Linked DNA regions of Homo sapiens: region 2 is linked to region 1. The links are contacts of gene promoters, found by promoter capture Hi-C in human tissues and cell types (Jung and others, 2019). All regions are on one chromosome and are shown on one strand. Each heading gives the region's core, a stretch centred on a gene start or on the middle of the fragment in contact. The rest is flanking DNA. Distances are from core to core; before and after follow the strand shown. Region 1 holds the start of GPR21 (G protein-coupled receptor 21). Region 2 overlaps RABGAP1 (RAB GTPase activating protein 1).

Region 1 (6,614 bases), core at 2,127-4,626:
AGACAACTTCAACCCAGCATCATTCTATCTTGCTAAATCAATATGGTTCTGAGAGTATATAGAAATTGGAAAATTCAGAAAATATAGAAAGCTATAAAGAAGAAAGATTTTTTAATGAATGTTATCCCACCATCCAATAATAGTGTTGATTTTTAATGTATTTCCTTTTAGTCATATATATATAGAAAGTTACTCAGCCTTCAAAGTAAATATAGAGAGAATATATCATGAGACTGCATTATTTTATTTTTTATTGTATTTTTTAATCAGCATATAACATACATACTTATGAGGTATATAAGGATGTTTTGATACATATAGTATATACTGATCAGATCATGGTAATTGTGCACATACCCATCATCTCTAACATTTATCAACATTTATCATTTCTCTGTGTTGGGAACATTCAGTAACCTCCTTCTAGCTATTTGAAACTACATAGTATTAACTATAGTCTTCCTAGAGTGGTATGGAACACTAGAATGAGTCTATGTTATGGTTAAAGACCAAATGTACATGTGGATTTCTGTAAGGATACAAATTTATAGAGCCTCCCCAAGTTGTTAATAAATTGTGTCTTTTGAAGAAAATGTTTTTCTTTAATCCAAAGCAAAACATTTAATTCCTGATTGATTCAGTTAAATGTGGCTATTAGTCTTTTTTTTTTAAAGTTTCTTAAATGAATATTTTGATTTTAGCTCCTAGAGTGGTTTCACTAAAATAGAAACAAAGTTGAAAGAACTGTTACTGTACTAATGGCAGTAATGTAACAGCTTGTAGTTTTGTTGCAATTTTATAAATTTTGAATTCTTTCAAATTTTCAGCCATTGTATTGTCTGTTTTTATCAGCGTAACTGTCTTGTTTTATACATGGGAAACCACAGAGAGAATAAGTTTCATGCCCAAATTCACAAGTAGTAGTAGAAAAGCCTAGACTTTTGACTTTGGTGAACACTTTTTCTGTTTATTGAAATACAGCAGTAACTCTCAAAAATCACTCCTTTATTCCGTATTTATTAAGGTGCTCAGTAAATATGGTTTAAAAATAAAGTCTATGGCAAGTGTATAGAAGTAATCTGATTTGGCTGGAGGGCAGGTTATTTGGGGGAAGTAAAACAGTTGAGATCAGACTAGAAAGGCAGTAAAGGAGCCATTGACTCTTGAACAATGGGGTACAATAATAAAATGTACATTTTGGATATTTAACCAGACAGAAAAGAAAAAATTAGAAAAATGAACAAAACTGTAAGTTTAGGTGGTAATCATCTTCTATGGTAAGTGTATTAAAAATTGAAAGGAGGAAATGCATTTGAGAACTATTGTGGAAATACATTTTCAGGACTTGGTGACTCAGAACTAAGTGCTTTGAGGGAGAGAGTGGTCAAGGTGATTGATTCCTAAGTTTCATACCGGAGTGCCTGGGAAAATGTTGGAAAAATACAGAGGCTTATTTGGTGGGAAAAAGGTTTTTGATTTTAGACATGCTGTGGTTGAAATCTCTACAGGACATCTACAGGACATCTTCCATCTACTGGTGGAAAATGTGTGACTAGCAGGCAAATTGTAGATGGAAAAGGGAGCTTAGGAGTGAAGTCAGGGCTGGAGACCTAGGCAGAGAAATTATTTATGTTGAGGGAATAATTGACGCCATGTCATCATTCCTTCTTTTCAGCTACCTTCAGTGCTTTGTATATGCATAGCCTCAATGTATTTGAGTAATGTGTGACAGCACTGTATTCAGATAGCTGTTGTATGACCTAGAACTGTATAGCCTCAGTAAGAGCAGGCCCTTCAGGATTCAGAGGAGCCCAGCCTTAAGCATTTCAACATGATGGGCAGGAAAACACTGGCTCTTAAGGAAGGCTACTTTAGTTGTAGGAGCAGAAAGTGAGTAAAGTTATATACCCCCTCTGTGCTAGGTGTTGGTAAGCCTTTTTTATATACTTTATTTCTCAACAACCCTGTGAAGTAAGGAGTGTTGTTCTCATTTTACAGATGATGAAACAGAGGCTTAAGAGAGGATAAGTAATATTAGAGCAAGAATTTGAACCTGATTATTGTTCCTTCGATGCTATTGGTCTTTTTACTGTGCCACACACTTCGCTCTGTTTCCCAATAAGACCTGTCAAATATTACTATCAGGATTACGGTTAAATAGGTTTTTTATTTTGGGGCTATGGCCGCGTCTGGGACTGGCCAGACAACTGCTGCTGCTTCAGATTTAAAATGTAATTCATCGCATTCTGATTATGGGTGGCCATTTGTCTGTAATTAGAAAGCATGTGTATAAAATGAATAAAAATGAAAGTTGGATCACATGTTTTTACTCAGTTGCCTACCTCTTGGAATGCTTTCAAATGCCGGCATTTGTTTATTGTCTTTTATTCTGCTGGATACTTTCAATTAATCCTTCTAAATAAAGATACTAAAATTACACATTTTCATAGCACCCAACTCTGTTAGCTGAAAATTGTCATCATTTATGACATTACCAGGAAAACCACAATATAATATGATACAGTTTGCATTGTTTTAAATAGGCAGAAGCAAGATTGTATATTCTAAGATACAAAGGCTTATTTGTACCATGAAACTTCCTGTAATATCCATGCCTGAGTAGAAGAAGGTACATTTACTTTTCTATCTTCTGTTTGTATTCTTGTTTACTGCTCAGCAAATTAGAAGCAAGAAATGCATCTCAAAATTATAGCGTAGTGTCAAATATGGGAACAGTGTAATTTATCTGTGCTATTTGTGTAGTATTCAGAATGGGAGATACTTTATTTTTCTCTTGAAAAAGTGATCTTAAAGTTTCTTGGCCAATATTCAGTGAATCATGAGAGACAAAATTAATGGTGAATAGCCTTCTAGCTAGAACTTCTTGTGCAGCTGAATTATGATTCTCAGTTGCCATACGCCATACACTTAAAGGAAGTTAACATACTTCCTTTCTTTAATATTGCTCTTTGTTCTTTGGGAAAATGCCGTGAGAAAATAGAAATTACCCCTCTGGTAGTGTGTTTCAGTCTAATTCCTGACACCCTGTTCTGTTACTACCCCTTCTCCTTGCTAGCACCCTGAATTCTGCTTATCTACTAAAAGGGGGATTCCAGACAGACGAGGAAACAGCCTTCAAATGGTGCACTGCAGGCATAGCAAGCCATTCCCACACTGTGCAGTCTGGAAATCGGGGCACCTCTCTGACGATGAATTCCAATTAGTTGCTAAAGATGCCAGAGTGTGTGCACGTACAGGCTTTTTCTTTCCCCTCCCCCTTTCTTCCTTTTCCCAAGCCCCCTCTTCTCCCTGTTTCCCCTCCTACTCCTTTATCTCCTCCCTCCGTGTCTTAGTTCTGCAGTACGCGGGTTGAAGCACATTCCTGCTTTGCAAGGCTTTCTGCTAAGGATGTATTGTGGCTTTTGTTTGGATTGCAGCATGCAGAATTACAGGTAACATTCTGAAATTGAACTAAACAGTAAATTCTGTTGAAATGTTTTCAAAGAGGCAAAATATTATATTGGAATCAATGAAGAAAGTAAATTATCTTGGCTAATTTTATTAGTGGTAATTGTAGTGAAAGGTTTTCCTAAATATTATAAGCAAATTCCTTTTCTCCCCCGTCTCAAATGAAAGGAAATGGGGGTAAATTAATCTGACTGTGATTGGTTTTGTTTTATGCTGATCTTGAAAGCTTGATGTTGCTGCTGCTCCTCTATACAGTACAGATCAGTTGTGTGGGGTGCTATTGAGGGTAGCCGTGAATAGTGGTGCCAGTAGGGGTGGAGCGGGAGGGATGATGCCAGCCTGAGCTAGCCAGGTTCTTTGATTAGGGCATTGGATGTGAAATGTAAAATGCTCTCTCCTTTTCTTCTATCAGCTGTTCAGAGGAGACTCATTACAACTCCTGCTGAAGCTCCTAATCTTCTTCCCTTCTCTTCTACCCTTTCCCCCTACCCTCACTTGGCCTGAAGACGTTCTCCCCAGAGTTTACCTTGCTCCCCTGGTGCTATGTGTATGGTGAACCTGGCACTATGGCCGCGTCTGGGACTGGCCAGACAACTGCTGCTGGCTCTCCTTATTCCAGGAAGGATTTAAAGGGGAATTGCACTGCAGGCAATGCACCAGAGCAGCAGCATCAGGAGCTTGGGGAGTAAGGCTCCTCTGGCATTATTACACACATGCAAAGCTGACCGCAATGACAGCAGCTGCTTCTTTGAACTGTTGGCAGCAGCCAAGCGGCAGCATGAAGTGACAGATCACTCCTGAGCTCAAGATGAACTCCACCTTGGATGGTAATCAGAGCAGCCACCCTTTTTGCCTCTTGGCATTTGGCTATTTGGAAACTGTCAATTTTTGCCTTTTGGAAGTATTGATTATTGTCTTTCTAACTGTATTGATTATTTCTGGCAACATCATTGTGATTTTTGTATTTCACTGTGCACCTTTGTTGAACCATCACACTACAAGTTATTTTATCCAGACTATGGCATATGCTGACCTTTTTGTTGGGGTGAGCTGCGTGGTCCCTTCTTTATCACTCCTCCATCACCCCCTTCCAGTAGAGGAGTCCTTGACTTGCCAGATATTTGGTTTTGTAGTATCAGTTCTGAAGAGCGTCTCCATGGCTTCTCTGGCCTGTATCAGCATTGATAGATACATTGCCATTACTAAACCTTTAACCTATAATACTCTGGTTACACCCTGGAGACTACGCCTGTGTATTTTCCTGATTTGGCTATACTCGACCCTGGTCTTCCTGCCTTCCTTTTTCCACTGGGGCAAACCTGGATATCATGGAGATGTGTTTCAGTGGTGTGCGGAGTCCTGGCACACCGACTCCTACTTCACCCTGTTCATCGTGATGATGTTATATGCCCCAGCAGCCCTTATTGTCTGCTTCACCTATTTCAACATCTTCCGCATCTGCCAACAGCACACAAAGGATATCAGCGAAAGGCAAGCCCGCTTCAGCAGCCAGAGTGGGGAGACTGGGGAAGTGCAGGCCTGTCCTGATAAGCGCTATGCCATGGTCCTGTTTCGAATCACTAGTGTATTTTACATCCTCTGGTTGCCATATATCATCTACTTCTTGTTGGAAAGCTCCACTGGCCACAGCAACCGCTTCGCATCCTTCTTGACCACCTGGCTTGCTATTAGTAACAGTTTCTGCAACTGTGTAATTTATAGTCTCTCCAACAGTGTATTCCAAAGAGGACTAAAGCGCCTCTCAGGGGCTATGTGTACTTCTTGTGCAAGTCAGACTACAGCCAACGACCCTTACACAGTTAGAAGCAAAGGCCCTCTTAATGGATGTCATATCTGAAGTGGCTCAGTTACGGGGTTCCCGTGTGTGTGTGTGTGTGTGTGTGTGTGTGTGTGTGTGTGTGTGTATTTTATCTCTAAGTATTCCTAATTCACTAGGAAATCTGGGACAGAATACTTTGACTCTAAACAATAGCATACAAATTATTCGTATGGATACCTTCTAAGTTTGTAGAAATGGTTTTCAAAAGTGCTTGTGAATTAGAAGACTCAAGATCATGAAGACAAATTGCTCTTGCTCTCAATTTTTGAAATGTCTTGGAAATGACTACAGTTCTCAGATTTAAAATGAATAAAGCCATATCTAACACCTCTTTCCAGCTGGCATGACTGAACCTGAGTGTGAAAAGCGTCAGCATTTTAAAAAGTCATCACTTTCTTGTCACTTTCTGGGCTCTTTCCAGCTATTTGGGCTTCATATGCAATTGATTTCTTCTAACGGAATAGTAAAATATAAATGAAAAGGTTTTAGAAATTACTTTTTATGTATGCCAAAGCATAACTACACTGCAAGTTTCAACACTGTCATTTAGAAAGCCAAATGTTCTGTGTTTTATTCTCTTGAGAGAATTCTCAGTAGGGTGAATAATGTGAACACATAAACATTAATTTTAGAATTTTACAGTGAACCATGAAGCAAAAGTGCAATCAAATTATACAATTTATGAAAAACTGAGCTACTTTTTGTGCCATGCTTCACAGAGATCTAAAGATATGTGTGCGTAGAAGTAATCGTGTAGTACTTTTGCCCATGCCTTTGTGTTATGTCTATATTTAGAATATCTGAATTGTTAGATTTCTCTTTTACAGCAAAATGTGCTTAAGCTAAAAAGTAATTCAGTGATAGGCTGTTGGCTGTCCATTTTATAATGGTGACTATATACAAAAATGTGTCTTTAATATTGTCTGTTCTTTCTATTCAAAGACTTCTGAAATATTAGAACATCAGGGAGAAGGGTGTCGGTCATAAGCAACTGAGTCAGAAAGTATACCGTAGTATACAGATTGTTTTTTTAAAATACAAGGTAGTTGAGACATTTTCTTTGTGGTTAAATGGAATCAACTAGTTATTTTTGAAAAGTATTCTTTCAGTTAGTGCTAAGGAATCCACATTTGAAGAGGAGAAGGGAAAACACTTAAGTCTCTTATTGCTATTTTCTCTCTGGAAAAAAAATCCTTTGGCATACAGTTCTTAATGGTCTTTTTTTTTTTTCCTGCCAAAGTACTAGAAAAACCTATAGGATTTTATAATTCTTCTATAGAATTATTATTGAGAGTTATGTGTGTTT
Region 2 (7,241 bases), core at 3,986-6,485, 43 kb before region 1:
TGCAGCTCAGAAAGATGACAGTTAGGCCGGGCGCAGTGGCTCACGCCTGTGATCCCAGCACATTGGGAGGCCGAGGCAGGTGGATCACAAGGTCAGGAGATCGAGACCATCTGGCCAACATGGTGAAACCCTGTCTCTATTAAAATACAAAAAATTAGCCAGGCGTGGTGGCACGCACCTGTAGTCACAGCTACTTGGGAGGCTGAGGCAGCGGGAATTGCTTGAAACCAGGAGGTGGAGGTTGCAGTGAGCCGAGATTGTTCCACTGCACTTCAGCCTGGCGACAGAGCGAGACTCCGTCTCAAAAAAAAAAAAAAAAAAAAAGATGACAGTCAGAGATAGGAGTTTCAGAGTGAAGAAATACTAAATGTATATTCGACCTAAATGTAAATTACAAAGTCAAAACAAATTAGAAGAGGCAGAAAGGTGAATCAAATCTGAGTCTGATTGAGACCGACTCTAATAGCACTATATTTTGAGTATCCTTTGTCTGAAATGCTTGGGACCAGAAGTGTTTCAGATTTCAGATGTTTTTGGATTTTGGAATATGCATATAATTACCTGCTGAGCACCCCAAATCCAATAATTCAAAAACTGAAATGCCCCAAATAGTACTTCTTTTAAGTGTCATGTAGGTACTCAAAAGGTTTTGAAATTTGAAGCATTTCATGTTTCAGATTTTTGAATTTAGGATGCTCAACCTGTACCTAAAAATCTTGGTGTTTCTGACAGAGTTCTAGTGTGGGATTTCTGGTTTTCATGGGCATTTCTTTTAGGGTATGGCATATTGTCTCATTAATACTTAATTTTAGACCTTAAATGTTACTTGCAGATTTTTACTTGCTAATCGTATCAACAAAATATCAAAGTGAAAGTAATCACTTCCTTATTCATTGTTTCTTTCAGATTCTGAAGCTTCAAGTCCTTTCACACCAGTGGCCGATGAGGACAGCGTAGTTTTCAGTAAACTGACTTACTTAGGCTGTGCCTCGGTAAATGCTCCCAGGAGTGAAGTGGAAGCCTTAAGGATGATGTCCATCTTAAGAAGCCAGTGTCAGATTTCACTAGATGTTACCCTTTCAGTGCCGAATGTGTCTGAAGGAATTGTGAGGTGAGACTGGTTTGTTGAAATCTTTCGATATTTACATCAGATCTCTGACCTGTTGCTTCAGAAAGAAGCAATAGTGAATAAAATACATATTAATAGTTATTTTACTTGTGTAACGTTTCATTTACCTGGCACTCATGTCTCCCAAGGACTGTGACCTTTGTGAAAAATGGTTACTTATTTGTAATAGTTTTTCGTACTCTTCCCGATCATGTGTAGTACATTAGGCATTTAATGTTTTGGGGATAAATGAAATATATTGACATGAGTCAGCCTAAAAGATTATATTTTCCATGTTCCTTTGATGAAAATACAAGCTTGACACATTATTTCAAAATGGAGTTTCATGTTGAGTTTGAAAGTTACAAAAATTTATTATTAAATATTAACTATACCAGCACACCCCTTAATTTTTATGATGAGAAAACTGGCTAGGTGCAGTGGTTCATGCCTGTAATCCCAGCATTTTGGGAGGCTGAGACGGGTTGATCACTTAAGTTCAGGGGTTCGAGACCAGCCTGGGCAGCCTGGGCAACATGGTGAAACCCTGTCTGTACAAAACATACAAAAATTAGCCACGCATGGTCATACACACCTATAGTCCCAGCTACTCAGGAGGCTGAAATGGGAGGATCACCTGAGCCTGGGAGTTCAAGGCTTCAGTGAGCTGTGATCATGCCACTTCACTCCAGACTGAGTGACAAAGTGAGACCCTGTCTCAACAAAGCAAAATGAAAAAAAAAGATGAGAAAACTGAGGCACAGAGAAGCCTCTAGCTGTTTATACTAATAGAACAAATAACAATTGCAGATAGCTAATCAGATGTCTGTATCAACCAGCTAAATATACTGTTGCTCAATAAGTCAGATGAATGCAGGTAAAATAAATTTTTTTTCCCTATTACCAAAGATACATGCTTATTTAAAAAAATTGCCACATAAAAATAGCCTTAATTCTACTCTACCACTAATAAATACAGTTAACATCTTGGCTTATTAAGATCTTCTTTGCATATTGGTATATGTATATGTCTAGGTATATGTAAATATACCTGCATATATATACATACATAATTTACAACTGTTAGAATCAACTTTTTTTTTTAACAGCAATGGACCTGTACATACCATCTTGTACTTAGTTTTATATCGTAAACCTCTTTTCATGCCAGTAAATATTATTAAAAATTTTAATTTATGATGGCATATGAATGGGTTATAAATAAATAACCCATCTCTTATATTAGACATTTTAAGGCTTTTATCTTTCAGAGAAAAAAGCATGAATGATGATAGCTAGTTTTAATTATATGGGAATATCAGTGTTTTATAAATAGGTATCTTTGAGCTCAATCTTTTTAGACTTCTGTTGATTTCCTTAGGATAAATTCCTAGAAGTAAACTTATTGAGTTTGTCTATTTTTATTGCTTCTAATAACATTGCCAACTAGCCATCTAGAAATATTGATCTAGTTTATACTTTTATCAGCAGTATATAGAATATCCATTTCTCAGTATCCTCAGAAGTATTTTGGACTTTCATGGTGACAGAGTAATAGCTGTGTGTTGATTGTAGTAAAATAATCTGTATATGTAATTTTTCCCCTTAAGTATTTAAATAACTATTTTGCAAAGACTCACAAATTCTATTTATTAATGATAAACTATTAATAAAATGTGTTTAGCACTCATTTCTATATGTTTCTTAGTCAATACTCATTCCTCTAACTGAAGTTAGACTTTAATATATTTTTAATTCTATAAAAGAAGTTAGAAAGCTAGTCGGTTTTACCCCACATTTTTAGAGTTTTCATAAAAGTGCTTTCAAACCTGTGTTAGATCCTCTTCCTAGGTATTTCCGTGATGAGCAAGGCCTTCTAGGCTTTCCCATTAATGGCTCTACCCACATAGTGTTGAAATTGCATAGTTTCTTTTTAGACCTTCCATAGTTGTGCCTTACTGCCCTGATCAGAGTCTGGAATGTTGTAGGTATCACATAAATATTTGTTGAATAAGTAGATTTTTGAATGAATGCTATCCCTTTGATTTTTTACTGAATGGCATCCTTTTGCTTTTATTCATGATTTTTTTTTTTTTGAGGAGTTAACATTTTGTATAATTTCTGTCCTTATTTTCCATGAATCAAAAAAAAACTTGTTTCAGTCTGAGAAAAAGCATCAGTTTTTTGTTTTTTATTTTTTCATAACAGATTAGGTCATTTTTAAAGGAGATAATTAGAAGCACAGCTTTGCCCAGGTGTGGTGGCTTATGCCTGTAATCCCAGCACTTTGGGAGGCCTAGGTGGGCGGATCACCTGAGGTCGGAAGATTGAGACCATTCTGGCTAACCTGCCCTGTCTCTACTAAAAATACAAAAAATTAGCCGGGCATGGTGGCACATCCCTGTAATCCCAGCTACTTGGGAGGCTGAGGCAGGAGAATCACTTGAACCCAGGAGGCGGAGGTTGCGGTGAGCTGAGATTGCGCCATTGCACTCCAGCCTGGGCAACAAGAGCGAAACTTGTCTCAAAAAAAAAAAAAAAAAAGCACAGCTTCAATGATGTATTTTGGTAGTCTAATTTACGTATTAATCGTCTTTATTTTGTAGCAGACTGTATAAGAAATGTGCTTATTGATATTGTTTATACCTTTCTGTTTGCCTCCCTAAAACATGATACTATATGGTTTTTAGTACTATGGAATTACGTAATCAATAGCTTCCGGAATTCACATATGAGTTACTTATTAAAATTTAAGGTTAATATCAGCATACCAAATATATGATCTTCTTACTAGAAAGAATGAGTCTCACATCTTAATCTAAACGTAGTGCAGATTGTTCATAATTCCTGTAATCTCTCTGTATCTTTTTCTCTGAACAGACTCTTAGATCCTCAGACAAACACTGAAATAGCAAACTACCCTATCTACAAAATCCTCTTCTGTGTCAGAGGGCATGATGGAACTCCTGAGAGTGACTGTTTTGCTTTCACTGAAAGTCATTACAATGCAGAGCTCTTCAGAATACACGTCTTCCGGTGTGAAATACAAGAAGCTGTAAGTCCTCAAGAGAAAACTCTCTGCAAATGAAACTTCACCAGTGCCCTCACTAGGTTGAAATGATTATGGTATTTATTATGATCACTCATAAGCCAGATGAAATTCTCTGCTATTGTTTTAGTGATTCTAGCCTCATGGGCCAAAATATAAATTAACTAAAAATTTGATTAACTAGAACTTTGTTACTACTACTAAGAATGTCAGAGGAGATCTGTTGGCTACTTTTGATTGGGTTAAGTAGGCATTCTGGTTCTAACATTGACAGATTTGCAAACCATTCTTTTAAATCAAAACTTGTTAGGACTGTTTTCATTGTAATATCTTCAGATAGTTTCTAACAATTTAGGAAGTGATTTTTAAATTGGATTTATAGTGCTTACAACCATTTCTTTTTTAAAACCCCTTGTCTGGACATTTTTAGTGTTGCTTGCTTTATAGGCCTAACAAATTAGGTAATTTACCAAAAGAAATAAGTGGGATAAAGATAATTATTGCCCTCCAAAGTAGGTAATCTTCCAGCCTTAATAAAGGTATTTTATATCTTTTGATAACAGCCCATTTCCTAACATGTCTGGTTGTAGGTAAGCCGGATACTTTACAGTTTTGCCACTGCCTTCCGCCGTTCTGCCAAGCAGACCCCACTTTCAGCCACTGCTGCACCCCAGACTCCTGACAGTGACATCTTTACCTTCTCTGTGTCTTTAGAAATAAAAGAAGATGATGGTAAAGGTTATTTTAGGTAGGGAATCTTATTTTATTCATGTATTAACATGCTGTGGTTCAGGGGAAATTCTAGGTCAGATTATAACTTTCATACCATAAAATGATGGCTTTTAAAGGGAGGGCTTTTAAAAAAAATCTGGATGATAAAGGCATATAAATACATAAATTTAACAGAGGCAAAGTTTGAAGAATTTTAAAGCAATTAAAAAAATTGTCATATTGGGAACATGTTGCTACCTTCTTTTAGTCAGATACCAAGTGGCTAACTGCTCACAAAAATATGGCCAAACCGCCAGGCGCTGTGGCTCACACCTGTAATCCCAGCTCTTTGGGTGGCTGAGGCGGACGGATCACCTGAGGTCGGGAGTTCGAGATGAGCCTGACCAACATGGAGAAACCTTGTCTCTACTAAAAATACAAAATTAGCCGGGCGTGGTGGTGGGTGCCTGTAATCCCAGCTACTTGGGAGGCTGAGGCAGGAGAATCGCTTGAACCCGGCAGGCAGAGGTTGCAGTGAGCCGAGATCCTGCCACTGCACTCCAGCCTGGGCAACGAGAACGAAACTCCGTCTCAAAAAAAAAAAAAAAAAAAAAAAAAAAATATATATATATATATATATATATATATATATATATATATGGCCAAAGCTTAGTCAGCTGGATTTGTAGCTATATTTGTTTTGCTGATTGTATTTGCTTGTTTTAGTTGGTTGATTTACTTATATTAATAATCTAAAAATCTTAAGCCTTTTCAAGTCAAGTTTTCCCAGTAAAGTTATCTGCATACATTGGAAGGGGAGAAATAAGGTCTGTGTCTGAAGTCTAATCTTTTGTAGGGTTAGAAGTGACTGATTTTAATTTTTAAATATAATGATAATCCTTTGAGTGGTGGAAAGAACCATGGAATAGAAGTCAAAACTTAGCTTTAGTTTAATTATTGTTACTATTAACAGTGTCCCCATTTCCAAGTTTCTTTACATCTGTCAGTAGTTTCCTCATTTATTAAATGAGGTGGCTAGACTCTAAAACCCTTTCTCACTTTAAAATTTTATGGTTGCAAGATGACTTGATGTTTTTAAAATTACAGCCCATGTCCCAAAATGATTGTATTATAATCAGTAATTGCATGTAGAAGTCTGTTTCCTCCATGACTACCTCATTAAATTGGTAAAATGAAGTTATATAAAAATATGAATATTTCTAATATTTTGCTTTTAAATTAAGCACAGTGATTGGTTTATTAGATTATTAGAAAAACTGATAATTTTTAGTCTTTCTTCAGACTTTGGAATTGTCATGCCATCTGGTGGCCAATTTAGTGTACAGTGCAGCTTAAACTTTGAGGAGTAAAGTATGACTCATTGTGCTCTATGCTTTCTAATTAGATAGATTTCTATTCTCTCTCTCTCTTTTTTTTTTTTTTTTGAGATACGCCTCACGCTGTTGCTCAGGCTTGAATGCAATGGTACAAACATGACTCACTGCAGCCTCAGCCTTCTGGTCTCAAGCAGTCCTCCCACCTCGCCCTCCTGAGTAGCTGGGACCACGGATGCATGCCACTATGTCTGGCTAATTTTTTTTTAAGTTTTTCTAGAGATGGGGTCTTGCCACATTGCCCAGGTTGGTCTTGAACTCGTGGTCTCAAGTGATAGTCTCAGCTTGTCAAAGTGTTGGGATTACAGGCATGAGCCAACCATTCCTGACTATTTCTATTCTCAAAGCAATGCTGTGAGGTAGTCCTTCCTGCAATGTACCTTCCTGCCCTGCAAAGTGAAAATTATAATCTGTATAATTTTAAGTAGTTTTTTACCTTGTTAAGCAACCTTTAAACTAAATATATTTTCTTTCTTTTTTTTTTGAGACAGAGCCTTGCTCTGTCACCAAGGCTGGAATGTAGTGGCACGATCACGGTTCACCGCAACCTCTGTCTCCCAGGTTCAAGCAATTCTCATGCCTCAGCCTCCTGAGTAGCTGGGATTACAAGCATCTGCCACCATACCGGGCTAATTTTTTCTATTTTTCAGTAGAGACAGGGTTTCGCCGTGTTGGCCAGGCTGGTCTCAAACTCCCGGCCTCAAGTGATCCATTTACCTGGGCCTCCCAGAGTGCTGGGATTATAGGCATGATTCACCATGCCTGGCCTTTTTTTCTTTATTGAAAATATTTATGTAGTTTTGGTCTGTAAATTCTAATTATTAAATAGGAAAGATTAAGATCCCTCAGAAGTATCAGTATAACTTCCCTTCCTTCTGAAATCAGGCATATTCAAGGTAGAATGATCATAAACATCTCTGTTCTATTTGTTAATACTGACAAAGTGCTATTACAGAAAATCCCTGGATGGTCAGATTTG

Evidence for each region. The method cuts DNA at HindIII sites, captures the fragments that hold promoters and counts their contacts. A contact is called where the count stands out against the background at its distance.
Region 2: a fragment that was not itself captured here is called in contact with the fragment with the promoter of GPR21 in region 1 in 1 of the 25 tissues and cell types used here (aorta).

Annotation. Positions count from the first base shown.
Region 1 is chr9:123,030,291-123,036,904 of GRCh38, forward strand. It overlaps GPR21 (G protein-coupled receptor 21), which reads left to right and starts at 3,377. Exons shown (of 2, transcript NM_005294.3): 1 at 3,377-3,452; 2 at 3,881-5,375. The coding sequence starts at 4,277. The coding sequence ends at 5,326. The region is part of intron 13 of RABGAP1 (RAB GTPase activating protein 1); the gene reads left to right. The HindIII fragment of the contact is 5,815 bases long and covers 1,638-6,614 here.
Region 2 is chr9:122,985,309-122,992,549 of GRCh38, forward strand. It overlaps RABGAP1 (RAB GTPase activating protein 1), which reads left to right. Exons shown (of 26, transcript NM_012197.4): 4 at 907-1,111; 5 at 3,989-4,163; 6 at 4,748-4,905. Among named protein-coding and RNA genes, the nearest start is that of GPR21, 45 kb to the right of the region's middle. The HindIII fragment of the contact is 8,131 bases long and covers 1,171-7,241 here.